2 separate regions of the Homo sapiens genome follow, and region 2 is linked to region 1. The links are contacts of gene promoters, found by promoter capture Hi-C in blood cells and fetal thymus (Javierre and others, 2016). All regions are on one chromosome and are shown on one strand. The core of a region is centred on a gene start or on the middle of the fragment in contact, and the rest is flanking DNA. Distances in the headings are between cores, read along the strand shown.

What was found. The method cuts DNA at HindIII sites, captures the fragments that hold promoters and counts their contacts. A CHiCAGO score of 5 or more calls a contact.
Region 2: a contact is called between the fragment with the promoter of TMEM237 here and the fragment with the promoter of KCTD18 in region 1, in 3 of 17 cell types (monocytes, non-activated CD4 T cells and total B cells). The highest score is 6.3, in monocytes.

What each region holds. Positions count from the first base shown.
Region 1 is chr2:200,508,796-200,511,495 of GRCh38, forward strand. It overlaps KCTD18 (potassium channel tetramerization domain containing 18), which reads right to left and starts at 1,273. Exons shown (of 7, transcript NM_152387.4): 1 at 833-1,273. RefSeq lists a silencer at 1,046-1,505. The HindIII fragment of the contact is 2,465 bases long and covers 1-1,739 here.
Region 2 is chr2:201,642,253-201,644,952 of GRCh38, forward strand. It overlaps TMEM237 (transmembrane protein 237), which reads right to left and starts at 1,251. Exons shown (of 13, transcript NM_001044385.3): 1 at 1,107-1,251. The coding sequence starts at 1,148. It overlaps MPP4 (MAGUK p55 scaffold protein 4), which reads right to left. Exons shown (of 22, transcript NM_033066.3): 22 at 2,622-2,700. RefSeq lists silencers at 350-539, 1,110-1,369. The HindIII fragment of the contact is 8,699 bases long and covers 1-2,700 here.

The sequences.
Region 1 (2,700 bases), core at 23-2,522:
AAAGATCCATGTGTGAGAGCCACCTCTGAGGCATGGGATGGAACTTGTTCCCTCTGCCTCATTACTGGCTCCCTGGAATCCTATCTATTCTTCAAGGCCTTCAGCAAACCTAATTTCTTGCATGACCGTCCCACGTATCCTTCTGCCCCCCAAGTTAGAATCCTTGCACAATTCTACAAATATACTGTGTGTCTGTCCACTTTTTACCCCACTTGTTTAATCCCTACTTTTTGGTCTGTAGGCCAAGGAAGCCAGGGCCTGTGTCACTCTTAATAACTCCCATTTACTGAATGCTTATTATGTGCCAGCCATTGTAAGAGACACTTGACACACTTTACCTAATTCACACAAAAACTCTATTGGATGGGAATTACTGTCCCTGTTGACAGATGAGGCCATTGGGGTAAAAAAAAAGAGTGATGTGTACAGGGGCCACACAAGGACTGACTGCTAGTAGGTTGTGGAGCCAGCCCCAATCCAGAACGGCAGGACGAACCCCAAGTTCTTCCTGCTTCACCCCACACCGCCTCCTCCAGCACTGTTTCACCCCTATGGATCCTGACCCAGCCCTTTCACTCTCTAAGCATCTGTCCATCTCAAGACTTGGCTACGATAACACAGCAGCACCCCGATCCCGAGGATTTAAGAGCTACTCCTCCTACCCCAACCCCAGGCAGTCTCTCCTAAGGATAGGAACATCATCATTCCAAGGCCACACCAGGGGGGCACTCCGCAGGCCCCATCCTCAAAAGCACCCAGTTAGGCTCCCTGCTATGTGGAAAGTGTCCAGCCCTCGGGGACAATGTCCCCCAGAGTGCATTCCTATGATCACCTGCATCAAAACCATCAGGGACGCTTGGGAAAACGAAGACACTCCGGCCACAGCACACAGTTCCTCAGAAAGTCTGAGGAGGGGTCGGGATCTGCCCGCGAACCCCACTTTGAAAAACATCGCTCAAGGGGCTCACACTCCTCTTCCGAAGCGGGAAGAGCCGGGAGGAGCTGGGGAGCCAGAAAGCCCCGCCACGGTCTTCCGCGGCCTGGAGACCCCAAATCGGCCCGAAGCCCGAGCCTGCAGCCCGGGGCGCGCGCGTTACCAGCGCGGCCCGTGCCCTTCCTCAGGGCGCCCCGCCGCCTTCCGGGCCCGCGGCCCATCCCGCGCCCGGCTCTTCCGCACCGGGGGGGTGGGGCGGGTCGGCAGCTTCCCAGACTGACCTGCGGCCCGCCAGACCCTCGGCGCGGCCGCCGGACGCCGCGGGGCGGACGCGGAAGTGAACGCCTTCTCAGCTGCTCGGCAACTCGGGAGCAGAGCGGCCCCAGCGGCGCCCCCGTGCGGCCCGGCTCTGAGGCAGCGGCTCAGGGAGGGAGGGAGGCCACGTCCCGGGCACGCCACGCCACGCCACGCCCCGCCCCCAGATTCGTCTCGCCCCAGTGGGCCGCCTCGGAGTCGGGTGGGTCTTCCATCCCGGAGGTAAGGGAAACACACGGTAGAGAAGGCCAGGGCTGAACCCCAAGGGACGGTCTTGTGTGTTCAGAGGCTGGTTTTACAGGTGAAGAGAAGAAACAGCCGCAGAAGTTGCGATTGTCCAAGGTCACTTAATAAGTGGCAAGAATTAGGATGTTAAGTGTTCTCACCCCCAGGTCAGTGCCCATCCCTCCAAACAGGGCTGCTCAGTGCCAACGTGTGTTAATATATTGCACTTGGATAAGTCTATCTGGATAGTGTCTGCAGCTTACAAAGCTTTTTCACACACAGCATTCTTGTTTAGTCTGTGTGACAGTGATATAAAGGGTGATATTTATTTCCCATTATAGCAAGGAAAATTGAGGCGAGAGCAAACATTTATTCAACACTTTTGTACACCTGACACTGTGCTAAGTGCTTTGCATGCACTACTTAATTTCCTGTTAACGATAACCCTAAAACAGTTCTTCCAGTTTCTAGCACCATCTTACCTTGTGCAAGGTACTGTGCTAGATATTTCAAGAGAAATATAACAGTCCTGTTTTCAAGGTGCTTCCCCAAAATCAAAAATATTTGGTTCCAAATTTCCCTGACTGGCTCTTAGAAGAGAATAAGCCAAAGAGAGGTAAGTCAACCTATCCCCTTAGATATTAACAGTCTTAGGAGAGAGGGAAGGTTTGTTCAACCTGTAATTATTAAGCACTAGCTATGGAGCAAGCACTGAGAGTAAAGGACTGGAAGAGACAAATAATGGGCGTTCAACCTTACTTTCCAGTACAACATGCAGAAAACTTGTTCTGTAAATATTTTAGGCTTTGTGGGCCATGCACAACTACTCAACTCAGCAGTTGTAGTCTAAAAGAAGGCATAGGCAAAACCTGAACAAATGAGCATTGCTAGTTCCAACTTTATGGACACTGAAATTCCAATTTCACATAATTTTCATGTGTCAAAAAATATTCTTTTAAAAATGCAGCTTTTTCAAACACTTAAATATGTACAAGCCATTCTTAGATCATGGGCCAGACAAAAACAAATGGTGGTCCATGGGCCATAGTTTGCCTGCCCTTGTTCAAGTGGGAGAAACAGACACTAAGCAAAGTGGTGACAGAGAGTGATAACTAGGTGCGAGGAAATGAGTGGACATTTAAGTTGAGGGCTAGGAGTCAGAATGAGTCCACCTTCTGCAGAGATGGAGGAAGGGTATTTTAGGAAGAAGGGAGAGCAAGTCGGAA
Region 2 (2,700 bases), core at 1-2,500, 1.1 Mb after region 1:
CAAAAGGGTTAAATTTTAGACACTCTTGTAGTTTGTCCCATTTAGCAATCCATTCGTTCGAACAGTAGATTAATGCAAGTACTACAAGATTAGGACGAGGCAAGCTGCCGTAATACCATCCAGTAGTCAAAATTACAATTGGAGAAGAATGACAGTCACAGGAACGCGCTATTGTTCTAAAGATGCTACGAAGCGCGCGCGATCGATCCCAGGGCTCTGTTCACGTAACTGATTTCAAAAGTCCCGCAAAAATGACGTTCCACCCACCCAGAGACCCAACCTCTAATCCTCAAAAGTAGGACGGCTCAACTGAAGACAAAAATCCTAACAATTAAAAGTAGCTAAGGCTCGCTTACCACAGGATTCTTCCCCATTCTGCGTTTAGCCGGCCTCGGCGGCCGCCGGCCCCCAAGCACCTGGCGCCCCACCCCTCCCGGCTCGGTCGCGCGCGCAGGCGCAATGCGTCATCGGGCCGCGCCGCCTGGCTAGTACCCCGCGCGCAGCGCCCTGCGGGGATGTTGCGGTGAGAGGCGTGCAGGGACCTGGATTGGCCAGTCCAGACTAGCCCTGCCAAAAAGGGGGCCTCGGAGTTGGGGGTAATGTGCCCAGGAGCAGAAATCTGGCGACCGTGGCGCTGCAATCACAGCTTTCCCGTGGTTTCCTAAGTGGTGGCGGTGATTTGTTTGCGGGAAGCGGGGCGTGACGGAAGACCTTAATTAAAGGACTCCGCAGGCGAACAGATCTCTTCTGGGCAGCTACAGACCTCTCCTCGGAGGAGTCTAGGAGAGGCCTGGCTGGAAGCCCCGGCACCCGCCGGGCCCCGGGCCTCAGATGAGTGAGGCGTCGTCGTGGCAACGCGGGCTCAGGTCCCCGCAAACTTCATGCCAGGCCTCTCTCTCCCACTCCGGGAGTTCGGTCCCGGCCTCGCCTGCGTCTCCGTCCCATTCCTGTGAACACTGGAGGGGCGGATGCGCGCACCCCACGAGCAAGGCCCTCCCTTAGTGATTCCCAGCTCGTTGGCGCCCCCCCACACACACCCACCCCCACTGCCAAGTGTAGCTGTTTACCCGCCACCTCTCGAGGCCGACGCGCCCCTCGCCGCTCACCAGGTGGCCCTCCTCCAGCCGAGCCCCCGAGTCAGTCCTCATGGTGCTCTCCCCGCGGGGCTGCCCCGGCGCAACCGCCGGCGGCCCGAGCCCAGCTCCCCGCGACGCAGCGGCCTCCGGGACCTGTGGGACGCCGGGGCTTCGTGGCGCCTGGCGAGGCAGCCGCCCCCTGAGCCAGGTCCCCGCCCGCCTCTGTCCTGCCAGGCGCTGCTGGGTTTGGGAGGAATGCGTTTACTCTCCAGGACCAACGAGTCTGTGCAGGCCTGGGTGTGTGGATGTGTATTAATATAGGCAATTCTCACATTTTCTCCGATTGCTTACCCTTCATCCCACAACTGTGTAAATCAAATTTGGAAAAACTTTTTCTCAACCTTAAAATCAAATCCAACCTCACATAAATATCACTACAAACTACCTGATTTGCATCGTTTGGTTTGGTTGGGTTTGTTTTTTTTTAAAGATAACTTTCACTTTAAGTAACAGAGAACTACAAATATTTTGAATCATGCATTCTGTTTTACAGTTAAGAAAGAAATGGGAAAGATGGAAGAATGGTGTGGATATGGAGAAGAGAATGATGCAGAAGATGAACAGATACAGGGACAGGGAAAGCGCCTGGAAATCTCAAATCTGGGGAAAGAAAGAGAAACAGCACTTTGTAATGGCATCCTAATCTTGTTACCAAACAAACGGGGCTTGTTGCCCTATACGCACAGAAGCCAATATTATGGCGCTGATTTTTTGAGAAAAGTTTTCATTGTGAGTCAGCTAACAAGGAGACAGGAGTATAGCTCTAATCTGTCTCCCTGTGTTGGCTTTAAGACAGTATTTTTATTAGAAAACGTTTAGGGGGTGGATTCTGGGATTAGTAGGTGATTGGTGGAAGGAAAGAAGCCATCTGGAAAATCCTCTGGCGTTCGCAGTTACCTCTTCATGTCCCTTCATGGGTCGCATGTGCAAATTTTGGAGGGAGTCAGTGTGAAACATGGGGAAAGATTCAAGCTGTGACGCCAGCAAGCTCATTTTGTACAGACTCCAGGTAGCCATCCGTGTTAGTACTAACCACTTTCAGCCAGTTTGCTTTGTTTTGTTTTGTTTTGTTTTTTAATCTCACAATGGAAGAAGTTTAGGCGTTTTATTTAGCAAGTTGTTTTTTATCTGCCGTCCTGCATGCTCAAGAATTTCTGTTAGTCCCTGGTTTCTTTAACTCTGAGACACGGTTTCACTCTTGTGATTTTCTATATATAGGTCTCTGGGATTAATCCATTGCCTTTTTCTAATTTAGGCCTGCATGTAGATATTGGCTGTTAAGGAAAATTAGTGTTTGTCACACCTCTCATGAGAATAATTTTTTCCTTGTAGGCCGATTTGTAAATAGTGAAGGCAGTGCAGTTTCTTGTAGGTTTTGATTTTAGATGTGAAATGTGTACATTAAACCTTTCTTGCTGAGTTAGTCAAGTAAGCACTTTTTGTAAAAGATGTTTTCATAAAACACGTTTCATAGAGTACAGTTTCTAAAGTTAACTATTGCTTATTTTATTTAGGAAAGCTCTTTATTTAAATCTTAAAAAGATCATGTGAAATCTGCGAAAGG